Regions from separate parts of the Homo sapiens genome. Here all the other regions are linked to region 1. Evidence: promoter capture Hi-C in 16 types of primary human blood cells and fetal thymus (Javierre and others, 2016). All regions are on one chromosome and are shown on one strand. Each heading gives the region's core, a stretch centred on a gene start or on the middle of the fragment in contact. The rest is flanking DNA. Distances are from core to core; before and after follow the strand shown.

Region 1 (2,833 bases), core at 198-2,697:
TTCTTTGCCGATCTCCCTTATAGAAACACACTGCCCTGTAAACTTGGTCACAAAAACATTAATGAGAAGTGATGCATGAGCATAACTAAGTGATTTCATTTCCCTACCAATTTTATGATTTTAGATAATAAACAGTTTAACAGGGCCGGGCACGGTGGCTCACGCCTGTAATCCCAGCACTTTGGGAGGCCGAGGCGGGTGGATCACAAGGTCAGGAGATCGACACCGTCTTGGCTAACATGGTGAAACCCTGTCTCTACTAAAAATACAAAAAATTAGCCGGGCGTAGTGGCGGGCGCCCGTAGTACCAGCTACTCGGGAGGCTGAGGCAGGAGAATGGCCTGAACCCGGGAGGCGGAGCTTGCAGTGAGCCAAGATTGAGCGTGTTTTGCAAAGCGAGACACCGTCTCAAAAAAAAAAAAAAAAGCAGTTTAACATTTAACAGAAGTGGACAGCTGTTTTCAAATGGTGTAGGCAACGACAAACATTTATTTCACATACCTTATTCTCCTTAGTAGTCAGCTTCAATTGCTCCAGTTCCTCTCTATGTTTCTGTTCCATTTCTTTTTCCAACTTGGCCACATCTTCGGTGAGTTGCTTCCTCCTCTTCTTGTCATTCTTGGGAACAGCATTCTTCATGCCCTGAATTTTGGCTGAAAAGCCATTAAAATCATTAAGTCAGACACGCAGGAGTAAAAGGAGATGAGAAACAGGAACCAATAAGGGGATGGTAACGGGCGAAGGGTACAGAAAAAGTAATTATGGAAGAAAGAGTCATCACGTAACAGGCAGCTACAGAGAGAGAAGATCCCAGATAAAGCTGAGACCAAAAAAAAAAAAAACTTCATTAACAAAATCTTGAATATGTTTCGGTTGTTTGGCGAGATAAGAGAAGGAAAAAAACCTGACTGTAGCCAGTTTTAAATCTTTCCGGTATCCTTTCTGAACCTCCTAAACTGAGGCGGGTCCATTCAAAATACACCCATTAGGGACAAGTATCGGTAACTGGGGCAGGTATAGAAAAGGGAGGCATCGTGGGTTTGGGAGCGGACCAAGACGGCGGCTTCTAGGTATTTTCAGACACCTGCACCCCGGCGGCGGCGCGGGGTAGGGGGCACGCCGCAGGCCTCAGAAGGGGAAGCCTCTGAAGGTTGGGGAATTAAAGGGCCGCCGGGGTAGGTGAAGAGAGAAGAGGCCACTTGCTACTAGGGGAAGTCTAGGGTGATCCAGATAAGTCACGCCTTGAGATTCCCCAGAATCGACCCGCCACGCGCCCTTCCCCCAGTCGCGGCGGCTTCCAGATTCCCACTTCCTTCCGCCTCACCTTGCAACTCCTTCTTCTCTTTGCGATGCCTTCTCAGCAGCTGCTCTTCCTCATCAAGCTCTTCGGTCAATACCGCCTCCATGACGACCAGGTACCCCAGCACACGCGCTAGAAGAAACCTGCACCGGCTAGTAGGCACCTTCCACCCCTCAACCCTCACCCGGGGCTCCATTGGCTACGGCTGGGACCCAGCCCCGCCTTCAAGGCGGCACCGGATCTAAGCAAAGCCACTGCAAAGACGAGAAACTTAAATGGGGTGCTGCGCGTGCGCGCTACCGTGACCCTGCCGTGATGGGCGGGGCGGCAGGGGAGGAACCAGACTGCGAGCGGAGAAGCGGAGTTTGCAGCCTCGGAATTGGCTAGAGCGCCAGAGCCGAGTCAGCCATAAAGCTACGCGCTAGGCTCTTGGCCCTGACGTGAGGCGCGCAGAGATGGCGTAACGGGAATAGTTTTCAACGTCTATTTCATTCCCTGCTTCAGAGGACCTCTTTAATCTTTGATTTTGGTCCCTGTTTCTAAGAAAAGCAACTGAAAAGGTAAGAAAGAAAAATAACGCATTTTAATAAAGCCGTCGATAATTATCAATGGGAATCTTTGGGCTGTTTGGGGCTGTGTGGAATTAAATTATGTTTATTGTCTCCAAGGTCGTAATACCGCCCCTGAGAAAAAAGGAGCAGCGCTAAATAATCGAGAAAATGCCTCCTCTTGAAACGGATATAGAGATGGAAACAAGATATAAGAAGGATTGAGAATCATATAATACAGGAGCTTAAACACCTATGCGCGATGATAAAGAGGGTACTATTAGAGCGCTTGGAAAATACCAGGAAGTTGAGAGAGTTAACAGAAGGGCGCACGCTGGATTGGCCACAAAATCGAATTACTGAAGTAAGTGCAAAACGACAAATTGTCACAGAATACAGAGAAAAGGGGAAAAGAAATTAAGAGGAGAAAAAGAGAGATCTAGAGGGCCGGTCCAGGAGATACAATCTATGCATAATAGGAATACCTGAAACTGAGGACAGAGCAAGTGGAGCTGAAACAATAAAGGATCTACTTGAAAAAATTTTCCAGAATTGAAGAACGAACTAGATCTACAAATGGAAAAGGCTCATAGGATACCTTTAAAGTTTAATGAAAAGAAAGCAGCATCTAGACATATCCGGGTGACGTTTTTGAATTTCAAAGACGAAACATTTTACAAGCATCCAGTCAGAGAAAGCAGGTTACTTACAAAGGGGCAAAAGTCAGGCTGACCTCAGATTTTTCTCCTGCAATTCTAAATGCCAGAAGACAGTGGAACAATATCTAGAGTGTTAAGGGAAAATAATTTTGAGCCAAGAATTATATACTCTGCCAAGTTATCATTTCTTTACAAAGGAAACTGGAAGACATTCTTAGATATACAGGGGTTAGGAAAGTATATCAACCAAGAACTTTCCCTGAAAATTTTGCTGAAGGATTTACTGCAGCTAACAGAGAACCTGAATTAAAATAAGAATAGGGAGG
Region 2 (2,833 bases), core at 206-2,705, 1.2 Mb after region 1:
TTTTGCAAAAACAGTAACCATGTGTTTCAAACAATTCTGATTTCAAATCAGTTATTTTATCCCTGTAAGTACATTAATCTCATTTTGTGCCTTGGAAATTCCAAATCCAAAAGTCATTGAAAGGGAAAGAAATATGAGGTTTGCTTTGAAATCAAGATAGCTAAATTTCTCCCCTGGCTTTGGGGAATGAGGCAGTTATATGAATTTTAAGGGTTTTAGCAACATCCATATTCAAACACAGATATGGAAACACATATCAAAGTTTAAGAAAATGTTTCTTTTATTTACACTCTATTATTCACATTAATGTTGCCTCCCATAGTATCTGAAATAACTAAACAATAGTATTTTTCACATGTATTCAGTTAAGGAAAGGATGTCAGAATCCATGTGGTATTGGAATATGGGATCATTTGACTTTGTCATCTTACCTTTGTCATATTATCTAGCAGTGCTACTGGGAAAGTTAGTTATATTCTCCCAAACTTGGCTTCCTCAGTTGTAAAATAGTAAAATGATAATGTTTACCAGAGCAAATAACAGGCCTTTGGGTGGATCACTGCAATTTCCCTCAACTACAGCTTGATAAAACATTTTCTCTTTATAGTCTTATCAATTCATATTCTTTTGTTATTTCACCTCTGATCTAGAAATGCTGGAGAGGGTACAGTCCTTCCAGGCCTTGTGATTCTTCACAGCGTGCTGTATTACATAACAGAAACATGCCTCATGAGTAAGATAAAGGTTTCCAAACTGGTTTTGCCAAGAAAGTGTTTGGGGATACTTTGTGTGTGCCATCTGTAGTTGCAGATACTGCAAAGTCAAAAACACTTGTAAACATAGTGGTCAGGGCCCTGTCTTGACTCTGAGAATAGCTGTAGGGAGATTCTTCATAGCCATAACTCAGCATGTATTGCTGCCTTTAAATGTGTAAGAAGTGAGTATAACCCCTAGATAACTAACATCTTATACATAGAGCTTAAGAGTGAAAGTTGTAATAGCTTGCCAAGCTCACTCAGTGGAAATAAAATTATACTATGTAGTTTTCTTTTAACCTGTGTTTTTCTTTGACGGAAATACGAACTTTCCCCAGATGTGCCAATGCCAACAGTAGAATGAAAAAATAGCCAGGACAAGCTGCTGCTGAATAATGTTTTGGGTCATAAGGAGTGTCAGAAATCACTCTGATGTCTCTCCATCTATTAGATAAAACACTGAAAGCTATACTTTACCCAACTCAAATCATTGCCATTAGAAAATATTTTAGAAGTGGGAAAAGAAAATGCTTGGTTTTGCAAAATAGTTTACTTTTAAATCTTATTTTAAGTGTTGATTGACCTTGGCTTCAGGATTCACATGAATCCTTTTTTATTTCAAAATGTTTCATGCATCTCCTCCAGCACCCCCCAACCCCTAAAAAGAAAGGTTAAGAAACATTGGTCCCATCTGAATAGGGGCACCCTGTCTGACTGGGAGTTGATTTTCCAAGTCAGCAGAACCGAGGGAAATTATCTGGAAGTGATGCTGCCTGCATTGGCAGCCTGTACCGAGAGGGCTGGACCCACTTCAGAGTCTGATTATACCAAAGACAAAGAATTGTTGGCATCATCAGTTCCCTGAACAAGCAACAAGTGGGCATTCCATTCCAGGGTGGACCGAGTGACCTCATGATCCTTCCCCAACTGTGAGAAAGTTACTTGTAGCTCAGCTATTAGGAAACAAAGAAAGTTTTATATTTTGTGAAAACCGTAGCTTGACAGAGATTTTATTTGGTCAAGAGTTTTATTGACTGAGAAAAACTAAAAATGTTTTAAAGTACGCTTTGTTTGAAATATTAGATATATCTATATACTCAAAATTTTTTTTTAATTTATTAAACACTTATTGAGCATTTGCTGTGTGCCACGCACTTTGTTAGGTATGCGAAATCCAAAAATGAGTAGGACATGCTGTCCTCAAGGAATATGCAGTTTAGTGGACAGACATTTACGTATTAGGTATGTTATATATAAGACAAGTTCAGTCTCTCTGATCATTAGAATAATGTCTACTAACACAAGGAGGCGGAGTGATACAGAGGAAATATCAGGAATTTAGAATCCCAGAGACCTGGTTGTAAATGATGACTCTATGGATGTTAGGAAGCCATGTGAATTTAAGTTATTTGGTCTCTCTGAGTCTCAGTCCCTCATCTTTAAAATGAAGCTATGACATTTTTCTGATTGTGCTGATGTAAGGATTAGACATATTGTTTGTAAAGGGTTTAGCATACTCCCTGGCCCAGAGTGAAAGATCAGTAAAGTGGGTCTTGTATTAATCCTATTACTTTAATAACAATAATATTGATTAGTGACTCCTCCTAGGGTAGGCAAAGTAAATGTCTAGGAAAAAAGTTCTCTAAGCCTTGATTAAATACCTTACTTTTGAAGAATACATTACTTTTCTATATTTACTAAGGGCAGAGTGTTAACTAAAAAGATAGCATAAATTCAGACAGATATTGTATTTCCAAAAACAAACGTAGTGTCAGTGTGAGACAGTAAGGGTTAGAGAACTAGACTAGGAGTTCTGGCTCTGGTTCGAACTCTGCCTCACAGTGACTGAGAGAAAGTTAGGTAAGCCTCTTAATGGAATAGGGCCAAGGACCTTGGGAGTTGTGGGGCCTTGGGAGAGGCCATCAGCAGCCTCAAGCTCCATCCAATCTGAGTGAAATAGTGTACCTGCTATGCAATGGTGTCTACAAAACCAGTTCTCCAGCTTTGTGGCCAGGTTGCCATGCCAACGCCCTACCTGCACAGAAGATCTGGGGCTGCCACCATCATCCTACTTTTAC
Region 3 (2,833 bases), core at 164-2,663, 1.2 Mb after region 1:
CCTGGCCGAGCATCTTTTTATGTGTTTATTTGCAATTCATATATCTTCTTTAGTGAAGTGGGTATTCAAATCTTTTGCCCATTATTGGGTTGTTTGTTTTTTATTGTCTTGTTTTTTTGTTTGTTTGTTTTTGTTTGTTTTTTTTGAGACAGGATCTTACTCTGTTGCCCAGGCTACACAGTAGCCTCAAACTCCTAGGCTCAAGTGATCCTCCTGCCTCAGCCTCTTGAGTAGCTAGGACTATAGGCACACACCAATATGCCTGGCTAATTTTTTTTTAAAAATGTTTGTAGAGACAGAGTCTCACTGCATTACCCAGGCTGGTCTAGAACACTTGGCCTCAAATGATCTTCCTGCCTTGGCCTCCCAAAGCATTGGGATTACAGGTGTGAGCCACTGACCTGGCCAGTTTAGCAATTCTTGAAAAATGAATTTTATTAGGAAGAGACATTGTGGGTTTATCAAACATCTGGAGTGGTTTTTTTTTTTTTTTTTTTTTTTTTTTTTAGACAGCGTCTCACTCTGTTGCCAGGCTGGAGTGCTATGGCACCATCTCCGCTCACTGCAACCTCCGCCTCCCAGGTTCAAGCAATTCCCCTGCCTCAGCCTCCCAGGTAGCTGGGATTATAGGCGTGCACCACCACGCCCAGCTAATTTTTGTACTTTTAGTAGAGACAGGGTTTCACCATGTTGGCCAGGATGGTCTCAGTCTCTTGACCTTGTGATCCACCCACCTCAGCCTCCCAAAGTGCTGGGATTACAGGCGTGAGCTACCATGCCCAGCCTGGAATGTTTTTAAAAACATTTATTCTCTATAATTTTCAAACATGTTTAAGCTAATAACCCTCTTCCATTAAAATATATTTAAATTTCTACTTTAGAAGTAATATATGGTCATTACAGAAAATTAAGAAAAAGGGTATATATTTCTGTAAAAAAAAAAAAGAAAAGAAAATGAGTCCAGATGTGATGGCTCATACCTGTAATTCCAGCACTTTGGGAGGCCAGGGTGGGTGGATCACTGGAGGTCAGGAGTTCGAGAGCAGCCTGGCCAACATGGTGAAATTCCATCTCTACAAAAAATACAAAATTAGCCAGGCGTGGTGGTGCACGCCTGTAGTCCCAGTTACTTAGGAGGCTGAGGCACAAGAATTTCTTGAATACAAGAGGCAAAGTTTGCAGTGAGCTGAGATGGTGCAACTGCACTCCAGCCTGGGTGACAGAGCAAGACTCTTTAAAAAAAAAAAAAAAAAGAAAGAAAGAATAAAAGAGAATTAGAGATATAAGAAGCATACCACTAAATGTAACAACTGTTAATATTTTGTATATTTCCTTCTATAATATACATATATGTACCGATATAAACATATACTAGATATATATACACATACTTTTAAAATTCTGATTTTATTAAATATTCTTTTAAAATCTTATTTTAATAATTTCCTAATAGTGTACACTATTGTTTTATATCATAACATTTAATTATATTCCTTCCTGTTGAGCATTTAGGCATAAAACATGGGATTTACTAACTTAAACATCAAAACCAGGTAAGTCCCATTCTGAACTCTTCTCTTTGGGTTTTTTTGTTTGTTCATTTGCTTGTTTTCTCTTTTTTGAGACGGAGTCTTGCTCTGTCCCGGCTGGAGTGCAGTGGCCCGATCTTGGCTCACTGCAACCTCCACCTCCCGGGTTCAAGCAGTTCTCTTGCCTCAGCCTCCTGAGTAGGTGGGACTACAGGCACGCATCACCACGCCCAGCTAATTTTTGTATTTCTGTATTTTTAGTAGAGACGGGGTTTCACCATGTTGGCCAGGATGGTCTCGATCTCTTGACCTTGTGATCCGCCCACCTCGACCTCCCAAAGTGCTGAGATTACAGGCGTGAGCCACCGCACCTGGCTCTTTTCTGTGTTTTTATCCCGCAGTGTACTACAGGTTTGGGTTGGCTCAGGGTTGAGGTCTTTTTGTATCAAATCCAGTTGTCCATTGAGAAAGCTAGATGGTCATGGCCATATCTCTATCACAGTTCTCTTCCTCCACTCCAAATATACGGCCAAGGTCTAATATAAAACTCTTTAAATGAAAGAGTGGAAAGCAAACCATGTTGTGTTCTAATGGATGTTACATTCACAGATTATATTAGAGATCAGGCTCCTCCCTGCTTTAAGAGACATAAGGAATTCATTTAAGGTAAGTTATTTCTTACCAGAAAAACAAGTTCTTTATCTGGAATGACACAATCTTTAAATAAATAAAAGAATTTGAGTATGCAGTGTTGTCTTTCTGCAGAGAATGTCTTAAGAAAAACTAATTTGTTCTGAAAATTGAAACATGGAAACGTGGACAAACAGCTAGAAAAAAATTTTTTTAAGAAAAATTTAAGACTCATATTTCCCTTATATACTTTTTAAAAATCAACCTCATAATTATATAAATAAGACAGAGCTTAATGGCTAGCTAAGCTAGGTCAGAAATAAAGCAATCCAAATGAAAATTTAGAAATGTGGTTGGTAATGGGAGCACAAGGGGCTGGATGGGAACAGGGAGTGAGAAGGAAAGCTCACAACAGTCCATTCCTAAAGCCCTCTGCAAAGACTCTTCACACCTCACTGAAATGGGGGAGGGCTCTACCCTAGGACACAGATGGGTTTACAGCAAGGACACCTAGCCACTTCCAGATATCTCAAATGTCCCACAGGCTTCTTCCCTAGATGAACCCTTAATGAGACCTTGGATAATGTGGAAGTTAGAACAGTGAACTACATCTTGAGATTGTTGTCCCAGAGGTATTATGGTAATTTAGTGAAAGCAGCTGAAAGCAGGGTTGA
Region 4 (2,833 bases), core at 189-2,688, 1.1 Mb after region 1:
TCTCTGTCATGCCCACAATCCCTTTCTAAGGAAGACTGCCCTACTATAGCAGTTTTTATATTTGTCAATTTATGAATATAATGAATGAGAGTTCTGGTACCTCCTGTCTTTACAAATATTGGTGTTGTCAGTATTTTTCCTTTTTAACCATTCCAATCGGTGTGTAGTGATGTTTCATTTTGGTTTTAATTTGTATATCCCTGATAGCTATAATTGGGTCATAGAAATTCTTTATACATTCTAGATGCAAGTCTCTTGTCGGATATATGTATTGAGATATTACACCTAGTCTGTGGCTTGACTGTTTTCTTTATGTCTTTTGATGAATAGAAGTTTTAAATTTTGACAAGGTCAAATTTATTTTTTTCTTTTGTTTGATATTTTTTCTCTCCAATTTAACCCCAAGATTTCAGATATTCTGCTCTATTATATAAACTTTATATTTTTATATTTGTGATCTACCTTGAATTGATATGTATGTTGTGAATTATGGATCAGGGTTCTTTTTTTCCCCCATACAAGTATCCAGTCATTGTAACACTGTTTATTGAAAGAATTATCCTTTCCTCATTAAATTACCTTGCCAATTAGTAAAAAATCAATTAACCATAATGGTGGATCTGTTTCTGGACTTTCTGTTTGGTTACACTGAAATGTTTGTCCATCCTTGCACTCACTCATACCATACTGCCTTGAATTACTGTAGCTGCATAGATGCTCCTTAAGTTGGGATTACATTGTAATAAACGCAATGTAAGTTGAAAATACTGTATTTAAGTCAAAAGTGCATTTAATACACCTTAACCTACGTCATAGCTTAGCCTAGCCTACCTTAAATGTACTCATGACACAGTAGCCTATAGTTGGGCAAAATCATCTAACACAAAAGCTATTTTATTGTAAAGTACTGAATATTTCATCTAATTTATTGAATAGTAAACTGAAAGCAAAAAACAGAATGATTGTGTAGCTACTCACTATAAACATACACAGCTGAAAGCGCACTGGGCCTGAAGAATGTTTGAAGCATTGAACTAAAATTGCGGCATGATGGGGAATACTACAGCAACAGGATTATCAATTTCCCTACTGATTAGGCTTGAGTAGAAGCATTGGTTGAAGGCACTAAGGGCATCAATACTTGATGGTTTAGCAGGAATAGTGTTCTTCACAAAGAGCAAGAATCAGTTTTTACCCTCTTGATGCTGTGGCTGACGGGAAGCTACGGCTTGCTGCTGCTGCCCAGCATTGCAAGATTGAGTATTCTATGGGCACATTACTAGCCAGGGAAAAGAACAAAATTCAAAGTAGGCTTTCTACTGAATGTCTATCACTCTTGTACTACCATCTAGTCAAAAAATGGTAAGTCAGGACTATGCAGGAAGTCTAGAAGTCAGATACATCAGTCCTCTGAGCATGTCAATTTCTATCCCAAAAATCGGCTAGAATTATTGTGCTGAATCTAAAAATCAATTTGTGAAGAACTGACATCTTAAAAATATTCAGTCTTTCAATCCATGCATGTAAAATGTCTATTCATTTACTTAGATCTACTCTTTCCACATTGTTTTGTAGTTTCACTGTAGAGGCTCAGACATCTGTTTTAATCTGTCCCTAAGCATTTTTTTGGTACTGTAAACGATACTTTCAGAAAGTTCATCTTGCAATGATTTATTCTATATGAAAATACAATTACTTTTGGTGTATAGAATTTGGATCCTGTGAACTTGCTAATCTCACCTATTCTGGCAAAATTTTTTTTTTTTTGGCAGATTCCTTAGGATTTTAAGTACACAATCATGTCATTGGTGAATACAGGCAGTTTTACTTCTTCCTTCCAATTGTTTTTGTCTTTTCTTTTTCTTACCTATTACAGTGGCTGTCAATACAATGTTAAATGTCTTTATTTTTTATCTCAAGGAACTATAGATTTTCTACCTCTAGTAGTTTCAGTAGTTTGCATCTTTTAAGGACTTCATATGTTCCAGTAAGTTGTGAAATGTATTGGTATAAAAGTTTATAGTATTTGCGTTAAAATGTCTGTAATATGTCATGGAGTCTCCCTTTCCTTTCTTGTTACCTGAACCTTGTGTTCTTTGGTTCTTCTCTAACTAGAGGTTTATAAATTAAATTTGTTTGAAGAACATTTAATTTCATTGATTTTTCTCTAATGTATGTCCTTTTTCTATTATTTATTTATTTATTTATTTATTTATTGAGACTCTGTCTCGCTGCCTCCCAGGCTGGAGTGAAATGGTGCGATCTTGGCTCACTGCAACCTCTGCCTCCCAGGTTCAAGCGATACTCCTGCCTCAGGCTCCTGAGTAGCTGGGATTACAGGCATGAACCACCGTGCCTGGCCTCTCCTTTTTCTATTTCATTGATTTTCACTTTCCTTGCTTCTGCTTACTTAGGGTTTAATTTGCTCTTTTTCCCTAGTCCTTTGTAGATCATTGATTTTAAACCCAGCTTCAAAAATGAGTATTTAGAATTTCACTCAACACACCTCTTTAGCTGCATGTGACAAATTTGGTTACTTGAGTGATCTTTTGGCTCAAAAAATGTCCTAATTTCCCTGTGATTTTTTTTCACTGATGTATGGACTAATTTCCAAATATAATTTTTCCATCTACCAAAAGATACAATAGTTAATTGCTATTTATTTCTATATGTTACTATTTCTAAAATTCCACTGTTGTCAGAGATCATATTCAGTCATATTTTAATCTTTTTAAATTTTTTGAGACTTGTTTTATGGGCAAGCATATTGTTGGCCCATTTTGGTGAATATTCTGGTTGCACATAAAAAGAATGAGTATTCTGCAGTTTAGGG
Region 5 (2,833 bases), core at 251-2,750, 1.1 Mb after region 1:
AGTAGATAATCAGAGCTGCTTCCCATGGTATTAATTTACTAGGTGTCTGTCTTTCTGCTCTTTGAGAGGATACCTCCAGCCATCAAGTCTACTTTCCAGGGAGGGAGAATGTGATGATGAGGGGACAGGTAAAGGCCTTTCCAGCTGAATTCCTCCCTGTTTTCTAAGGAGCTTTCTCAGAAACCCAACTTAATAGCTTTTGTTATTGGCCAGAATTGGAAATAATTTAGCCACTCTCTATCCTCAATCTAGAAGAGTCTGGAAATGTTTTAAACTTGGCACATTGCTGTCCCTGATAAAGAGTTGCATTTAAGGAAAAAAGAGAGAATGAATGTTGAATTATCGGATTCCATTTTGCAGCCAGAGTGAGAAGTTCAGAGACAGAGGTTTTTTTTTTATTGTGAAGGATTTAAGACTACTCTCATTTCACAGATGCACTAAGTGAAACAAGAGATTTGTATGTTCTATAAGTCACTTCTGTCGCAATTCCTACTATGGTGGAGAGCTAGGTAAATTAGTTTAATGTGACATTTGTTGAAATCCAAGACATCATTTGCTAAGTTTAATACATTTACATATGTTTATAAAGCTATCTTTATTCTGTTGGTATTATGGATTTACATTGTTACTTTAGTTCCAGACTTTTCAGAATCTGTATTCAGGTTACTTAATATTACATGTAAGTGTTTAGAAAGTTAGGCACTTTTTACATTACTTTGGCCACACCTTTGGAAATACATTTCCCTTGCTGTGCTCTCTTCTCCTCTGATTTTCTCTGACATGTTATTTTCTTTAGTCTTCTTGTCCTAGTACATGCTTTAATCTTTTTTTTTTTTTTTTTTTTGAGACAGAGTCTTGCTCTGTCACCCAGGCTGGAGTTCAGTGGCGTGATCTCCGCTCACTGCAAGCTCCGCCTCCCGGGTTCACGCCATTCTCCTGCCTCAGCATCCCTAGTAGCTGGGACTACAGGCGCCCGCCACCACGCCTGGCTAATTTTTTGTACTTATAGTAGAGATGGGGTTTCGCTGTGTTAGCCAGGATGATCTCAATCTCCTGACCTCGTGATCCACCCACTTCGGCCTCCCAAAGTGACTTTAATTTTTTTTAAGTAGCTACCCCCACCCCACTTTTTTTCCCTTAAATTCCATCCCAGATTAGTCTACTGCTATGGTGGCCACAAATCTATCTGGAAATGGTTGTGGTTTTAGTCTGTAACAGCCCTCCTTGGCTCATCCTGGATGACTGCTAATTAATCTTCCTGAAGACCTACTTTCACTGCACATTCTCCCAGGGCTTATGTCACTCAGGGCACTGGGCATTAGAGCACAGACAGGGAAAGACAAGAACTGAGCACTATACACCCTTGACATGGGAGCCATCAAACAGTCTTTCATAGACCGAAAGAAACTTTCATTTAATATGTAAGGTTTATATGAGGTATAACGATATGAGGAAATATAATTATTTTATTTTGCCCTATGATTCTATAGCATAATTCCATTTTTCCTTTATTTTACTGTTTGAGAATTCATGACATTCTAAATGAAAATTACAGTACAAAATATGTTGTTGTAGGCTTTTGGAGAAAGAATAGCAATTTAATTGCGGTATCTCTCATTGAGATACAGTTGGCCCTCTGTATCCATGGGTCCCACATCCTCTGATTTTACCAACCTGTGATTGAAAGTATTTGGGAAAAAAAAAATGCGTCTGTACATGTACAAACTTTTTAAAAATTATTATTTCCTAAACAATGCAATATAACAACTACTTACGTAGCACTTACATTGTATTAGGTATTGTAAGTATTCTAGAGATGATTTAAAGTATATGAGAGGATGTGCCTAGGTTATATGCAAAATTTATGCTTTTTTTTATCAGGGACTTGAGCATCCATGGATTTTGGTGTCCATGGGAAGTCATGGAACCAGTTCCTCAGGGATACCACAGGGATGACTACTACAAGTTAAATCACTGTATTCCAGCACTATAATATTTTTAGTAAGAATCTGTAATAGCTACAAAAGTATTTCTGTTTTCAATGTAAGGTTACTTTTAAAAACTGTTTGAGACAATTGTTTGTCCACATGCAGCGAACCCTTTATCTAATTTCCCCTGATTGTTACAGCTTGCATAACTACAGTACAGTATCACAACCAGGAAATTGACATTGATAAAATCCATCAACCTTACTCAATGTGGGGTTGTTTTAAATTATTTTATTTTTGTTATTTTAAGAATTTGTCTGAAAGTCCATGTTAATCTCATGGATTAAAGGAATTGGTGCTTAATTTTTTTAGCTACAGAAGTGACTGTCAGAGAAAAATACTTCTTAATCCTTTCATTTAAACATTTTTTTGGCGATTTTTTGAAGGCAAAAAATGTGATACTTCTCTTTGGTGTTGGAATCCCTAGCTATATTTCAGAAAGGCACTTTCCAATAGATGTTGATGGTAGAACTGTCATTTCTCTGTTTTTGGATCTAAATTTAGATTATAGCATGTCTGTAAGATTTCCTGTCAGCTGAAATGGAAAACTATTAGCTTAATATTCCTCCTAGGACTTTATCCTTATACGAATGATAGCTGTGCCTGAGTCTTGGCCTTACTTTCAGTTTCCCAGTCTCTATAAAATGCAAAACTGACTCAAGATCCTTAACATTCTTCTCCTTAACAGCACCCACTGTGTCTATAGTATATTTCCTCTTCACTTCATTGTACTCTCCTTTCTCAAGTCAAGCATTTTTATATAGCATTTTTTCAATACCCAGTAGTAAATTCTTAAAACTACAGCATTTTCCAGTACCCTGTAGTAATAGCTACCACTTATTGGA
Region 6 (2,833 bases), core at 127-2,626, 1.1 Mb after region 1:
TAAAGCAGTAACCATAATCACTCCCACTGAAGACAAAGCAACCTCCATATAGTGCTTAAAAAAAAAATGTTTCTTTTGAGACAAGGTCTCACTATGTTGCCCAGCTGGTCTCAAATTCTGGGCTTCAAGTGATCTTCCTGCCTCAGCTTCCCAGTAGCTGGGATTACAGGCACACACCATCCCACCTGGCTCCATGTCGTACTTTTTAACTTCATCTTCGTGTACAGAAAAAGAAATATTCTACCACTGAATTGGAGAAATTAAAATAATGAAAATTGCGGATGTTTACCCAAACATCAGTTCCACAATTTTCATTGTTTCTTTCATCTCAAATAGTACCTAACTTTTTCCAAAAAGATGTATTTAAATAATCTAAATAATATTTCTAGTATTTCATATAAGATTAAGATGCTAATCAAACAACTCTGGCGAACAGTGTTTTCAATACTATGGCACAGAACAGTTTCTTCAAAAGCGTCGCCAATAGGCTTGATGTAAGGGACTTACCGGCTGGCTATCACGCACTGAGCACCTAGGCTGGACAGAAGAGTTGTCATTCCTTTACCAAGGCCAGTACCTCCCCCAGTAATGAATGCCACTTTTCCTTGAAAACTATTAGGTGGTAGCATCGCTTTTTGAAGAGGTGAAAAGAATTTAGATTGCAAAGCTTCAGTGTTTTGATATAATATTTTTGTCCCATAACTGAAAAACTAAAAGGGGAAAATGAATTTAAATTTGCATACATATATTTCCAAAAAACAGATGAATTTTTTAAAACATGCTCTTGAATTTAATAGTAATCAAATTCTTGTATTAACACAAACTCACTGCAAACATATTGGTATTGTACTTAATTATTATTCTTTGTTTTCTGATTTAAAAAGCACAGGCTCTGGAGCTGGACTACATAGCACAGAATTTTCTCCCAAGCTATGTAACTTTCAGCAGGTTATTTGACCTCTCTGTGCCTCAGTTCCTTCATCTACAAAATGGGGACAATAAAATAAATTTCTTCATATGGCATTGTGAGGATTATATGAGTTATTACAGGTAAAGCACCTAGAGCAGTGTGTAGCACATAGTAAGCACTACAAATGCTACCATTATTAGCTGCAGGTGTTTTGCTTAAATTAAATTGTTGTGTTTTGTTTTGGTTTTTGGTTTTGTTTTGTTTTGTTTTGTTTGTTTGTTTTTTTGAGATGGAGTCTCGCTCTGTAGCCAGGCTGGAGTGCAGTGGCATGATCTTGGCTGACTGCAACCTCCGCCTCCCAGGTTCAAGCGATTCTCCTGCCTCAGCCTCCCGAGTAGAGTAGCTGGGATTACAGGCACACACCACCACGCCGTTAAATTTTTGTATTTTTAGTACAGACAGGGTTTCACCATGTTGGCTAGGATGGTCTCGATCTCCTGACCTCATGATCTGCCCACCTCGGCCTCCCAAAGAGCTGGGATTACAGGCATGAGCCACCACACCCGACCAAATTTAATTTTTAAAAAACTAACATAAAGCATTTTTGTCTTTCAACAAGAATAATCTGGACAAAAATCACTTTCCACCTTTGAATTACTGAAGAAAATTGTTAAAAATTCTCTATAAGGATTATTAAATCAAATGCCTCTTCCCATGCTAGCTTCTGGCCACAAAACATAAAACAGAATATTTCTGTTATTTATTTTAAATGGGAGGAAAATCAATCCATTTCGGAGTAAAAAATATTTGTATTGCCCTATTTTATATGTTAACAGCTTGTACTCACATTACATGCGAACATCACTGCCATTCTCTCGCATTTAATCATAAAACAAACTTTAGGTATCTAATATAATGAACAATAGGAGCTAACATTCATTAAGTAGTTACCACCTGCCAGGATTACATATCAAACTATTTAATCTTCCAAACAACCACATGAAATAGGTATTAGTTTTATCCTATTGTACAGAAAGGGCTCAGAGTGATAAAAAATATATATATTGCCAAAGTTGCAGAACCAAGGTTCAAACTGACTGACAGGCTCCAGAGCCTTCTCTGATAACCAGCTTGCATATTCCTCTGTCTATTCTCTGAGATCCTGCTAAGCTTAATGGTCACACCAGGGAGGTTATGTGATATTCCATTAGGTCATGGTGGCAAGATTAACACTCCAGTTAAAACTCCAGAAGCTACCATTTCCTTCCAGAGTATTCCTGTAGCTAAATAGGCTGTCATCAGTTGGTTCAGGATATCTTGAAATTTATCCTCAGGAAAGAATAAGAAATGTGGTCAATGATTTAGAAGGAGGCTGTTCATCACCTGGAAATTGCACAAGAAAATGTTTATAATGTGATGTTAAATGAAAAAAAAGAAACAAATATACAGTATGTTTTTAACTACAAATAAAAATATATGCTTAGAAAAAAAGACTAGAAGGAAATAACAACAGTAAGTAGTAGATTCAATATTTACCATACAGTCCTCAAAACAGCTCTATAAGGTAAATTCAATTGTTACTTCTATTTTATAGATGAAAAAAACTGAAGCACAGAAAGGTCAAGTAGCTAGCTGTTAAAGATAAATAATAATAGGGAATAAAGACTTAAATCCAGTATCTGTCTGACTTCAGAGTCCACCCATTACTTTACAGTTATGGTTAAGTGATGAGATTATAGATAATTATTTGTTTTTTTTTGTTTGTTTGTTTGATTGGTTTTTAGTACTTTCCAAATCTATCCAATAAGTATGATTAGATCTTTACAAGCAGAAAAAAAGTTACTGAAAGACAAAATTTGAGATCATGTATAAAATAATTGAAGATACATTTGTAAATCTTGTTATGCTCCATGCCAGTCATCA
Region 7 (2,833 bases), core at 120-2,619, 1.0 Mb after region 1:
AGCTTTCCAAAATAAAAAAAACCACACACCTCAAAAGAAAATTAAAATACACACAGACACAAACACAGAACAACAACATAACATTCACAGCATGCAATAAAAAATTACTGCACATAAAAAGACACAGAAACCTAACAAGGAGAAAAATGATTAATAGACAAAGAGTCCCAGAAATGACAGAGAAGACAGATGTAGCAGACAAACAGCCTTTTAAATGCTATTACAAATATTTTAAAAGATTTCACTGAAAATATTTATATGATGAGAAAAATGGAAAATACAAAATAGAAACCAATATGGCTTCTACAGCAGAAAAATACAGCATCTGAAAGGAAAAATTGAACAAATAAGCTTAGCTGTAGAAGAAAAGATCCATGAATCTGAAGACACAGCAATATAAACTATCCAAAATGAAAGACAAATGGGAAAAAAAAAACTGAGGAAAAACCCAGAACCTCACTGACCTATGGAACAGTATCTAGCATTCTAACAAACGTATAGTTAGAGTCACAGAGGAAGAAAAAGCACTTGAATAAGGACTAAAAAAATTCCGAATTTGGTAAAAACTATAACTTACAATGCAGAAAGCTAAATGAATCCCAAGCAGGATAAACAGGGAAAAAAATCAATACATTATCATAATCAATAACTGAAAACCAATGATATATAGAATCCTAATTGCAGCCAAAGGTAAAAATAAGCAATAAAAATACACAAACACAGACAAAAATTTTCATTGTCTTCTCATTTCTAAAAATAATGTAAGCTAGAAGACAATGGAGTTATATTTTTAAGGTGTTGAAAGATAAAACTTAACTCTGAATTCCATATCCATCAAAAATACCCTTCAAAAATCAAGGTGATATGAAAATGATATTATAGAGAAACTGAGATTGTCAAAAGGAAAGAAATAGTAAATATGTAGGTAAATATAAAATATTTTTTCTTGTTTTCTAAATTTCTTTTTAAAATGATTGTATAAAAGCTATATTACAAAGTGATACTGCATATACAGTGGTCAATAGTGTCTAGGACACAGCAGGTTCTCAATAAATTAACTGAATAAGGCCAGGCACAGTGGCTCATGCCTGTAATCCCAGCACTTTGGGAGACCAAGGGGAGCAAATCACCTGAGGTCAGGAGTTCGAGACCAGCCTGGCCAACATAGTGAAATCCTGCCTGTACTAAAAATACAAAAATTAGCCAGGTGTGGTAGGGCATGCCTGTAATTCCAGCTACTCAGGAGGCTGAGGCAGGAGAATCACTTGAACCCAGGAGGCAGAGGATGCAGTGAGCCGAGATGATGCCAGTGCACTCCAGTCTGGGTGACAAGAGTGAGACTCCATCTCAAAAAATAAATAAATAAACAAACAAACAAATAAATAAATAAACAAATAAAGGCTTAAAAGGGTAATCTTTAGGTCCTGAGAAATCAGTGATTTCTCTACTTCTTATTTATTCATAACACGGGATAAGACAATACTTAATATTTGCAAAAGGATCAAAATAAGTTTACATCTTTTACATAACAGCAAATACTTTTAGAAATTTAAATTTGAAGGACTACAAGGAAAGTATTTTGAAGAATATTCAGATAAGTTTTTTCTCTGCTCCATATATTTAGTTTCTCTTTCTCTCAGCATGTTCCAGAGTAGAAAGAAAACTCAGCACATCCTGGGAAACACGGGGGTGGAAGAGGGGGCAGGAGTACCATTTTGAGGATAGGAAAAAATAAGAATGGTTATGTTAATCATTCTGGTAACTCCTTCTATATATCAAACAGCCTTTCAGATTGCTGAAAATTACTTTGCTTCCAAAATCGTACTCCATGAAAGAGGAGGGATGTAGAACATTAGTGGGCTCCATTACAGTACATTGACAACAGATGCTAACTGTATCATTCTTATAGCAAAATTACAAAAGAAAAAAAACTGCTTTAAAAGTGGCAAATACAAAGCAAATGCTCCAATGGAAAGTGCACTATCTTTCAACTAAGACTGAACAAATACATTTCTCCAAGTGTGGGAAAGGAGTTAAGCCATCCTACTACAATTTAGATGCTGAAATGAAAGTTATTTTACTATTCTTTTTATCCCTTTAAGGTTTTATTTTCTCAGCCTAGAAAATTTGGGTAGCCCACCTCTTAGAATAATATACTGCAGCTTTTAATTCTCATGAGTGTAAAAGGGAGATAAAGGTTTGAAACTGCACTGTTCCAATAGCATTAATGCTGCAAGGTGAAACAATTATCGGCTTCAAAAAAATGAACAGTGGTGCTAAAGTGCAAAGTAAAGAATTCCTAGATCCCCAGGGTTAGTCACATATATTTTCCTTCTTGTACAGAGGCCCATTATTTCAGTTAGAATAACTGCTCATGGAAAAGCTTTATAAAAGTCAAGTTTCTAACAGCTCAGAGCAGACAACAGAAATGAATCTATATTATTAATGAGGTTAAGAAAATAGAGAAGGGAAGCAATAAATGAAATAAATATTATGTTAGTCCATCCTTTGTTATTTTGAAATGGAAAAAAATAGTAATAAAAGAACATCAAAAATCATATTATCTATCAAAAAAGCTATGATATGTGCAAGATTATGATCTAATTTCAAAAGAAGATTCAAAAGTTCTAAAATCTGGTTTCAATACAAACTATGAATTGAAAGAATCACTAAACAAATTTAGTTCCAATGACCAACAGAAGGGGAATAGTATAGACACCTGGGCTCAGAAACTGATTCCACTATTTACTAGCTGTGTAGCTATGAGACTGGGGAAGTCGCATCCCTGCTCTGGACCCTAGATTTATCACCTGTAAAACAGGAACATAGGGCG

The links. The method cuts DNA at HindIII sites, captures the fragments that hold promoters and counts their contacts. A CHiCAGO score of 5 or more calls a contact.
Region 2: a contact is called between a fragment that was not itself captured here and the fragment with the promoter of OTUD6B in region 1, in 1 of 17 cell types (neutrophils). The highest score is 7.8, in neutrophils.
Region 3: a fragment that was not itself captured here is called in contact with the fragment with the promoter of OTUD6B in region 1 in 2 of 17 cell types (neutrophils and total B cells); the score reaches 7.9 in neutrophils.
Region 4: a contact is called between a fragment that was not itself captured here and the fragment with the promoter of OTUD6B in region 1, in 6 of 17 cell types (total CD4 T cells, naive CD8 T cells, neutrophils and 3 more). The highest score is 8.1, in total CD4 T cells.
Region 5: a contact is called between a fragment that was not itself captured here and the fragment with the promoter of OTUD6B in region 1, in 3 of 17 cell types (fetal thymus, neutrophils and monocytes). The highest score is 7.5, in fetal thymus.
Region 6: a fragment that was not itself captured here is called in contact with the fragment with the promoter of OTUD6B in region 1 in 11 of 17 cell types (neutrophils, total B cells, total CD4 T cells and 8 more); the score reaches 11.9 in neutrophils.
Region 7: a fragment that was not itself captured here is called in contact with the fragment with the promoter of OTUD6B in region 1 in 7 of 17 cell types (neutrophils, naive B cells, activated CD4 T cells and 4 more); the score reaches 9.2 in neutrophils.

Annotation. Positions count from the first base shown.
Region 1 is chr8:91,068,958-91,071,790 of GRCh38, reverse strand. OTUD6B (OTU deubiquitinase 6B) reads right to left here and starts at 1,447. Exons shown (of 7, transcript NM_016023.5): 1 at 1,325-1,447; 2 at 502-653. The coding sequence starts at 1,406. OTUD6B-AS1 (OTUD6B antisense RNA 1) reads left to right here and starts at 1,602. Exons shown (of 3, transcript NR_110438.1): 1 at 1,602-1,860; 2 at 1,969-2,212. RefSeq lists an enhancer at 1,220-1,399. The HindIII fragment of the contact is 11,349 bases long and covers 1-2,833 here.
Region 2 is chr8:89,856,826-89,859,658 of GRCh38, reverse strand. No RefSeq gene overlaps it. Among named protein-coding and RNA genes, the nearest start is that of OSGIN2, 44 kb to the left of the region's middle. RefSeq lists a silencer at 1,484-1,778. The HindIII fragment of the contact is 8,587 bases long and covers 1-2,833 here.
Region 3 is chr8:89,876,764-89,879,596 of GRCh38, reverse strand. No RefSeq gene overlaps it. Among named protein-coding and RNA genes, the nearest start is that of OSGIN2, 24 kb to the left of the region's middle. The HindIII fragment of the contact is 8,683 bases long and covers 1-2,833 here.
Region 4 is chr8:89,931,263-89,934,095 of GRCh38, reverse strand. It overlaps NBN (nibrin), which reads left to right. Exons shown (of 16, transcript NM_002485.5): 16 at 1-765. Among named protein-coding and RNA genes, the nearest start is that of OSGIN2, 30 kb to the right of the region's middle. The HindIII fragment of the contact is 3,477 bases long and covers 1-2,833 here.
Region 5 is chr8:89,949,323-89,952,155 of GRCh38, reverse strand. All of the region lies in intron 11 of NBN (nibrin), which reads left to right. Among named protein-coding and RNA genes, the nearest start is that of NBN, 34 kb to the left of the region's middle. The HindIII fragment of the contact is 3,364 bases long and covers 1-2,833 here.
Region 6 is chr8:90,015,001-90,017,833 of GRCh38, reverse strand. DECR1 (2,4-dienoyl-CoA reductase 1) reads right to left here. Exons shown (of 10, transcript NM_001359.2): 2 at 508-710. Among named protein-coding and RNA genes, the nearest start is that of DECR1, 15 kb to the right of the region's middle. The HindIII fragment of the contact is 1,413 bases long and covers 670-2,082 here.
Region 7 is chr8:90,032,985-90,035,817 of GRCh38, reverse strand. All of the region lies in intron 5 of DECR1 (2,4-dienoyl-CoA reductase 1), which reads right to left. Among named protein-coding and RNA genes, the nearest start is that of DECR1, 33 kb to the right of the region's middle. The HindIII fragment of the contact is 2,032 bases long and covers 354-2,385 here.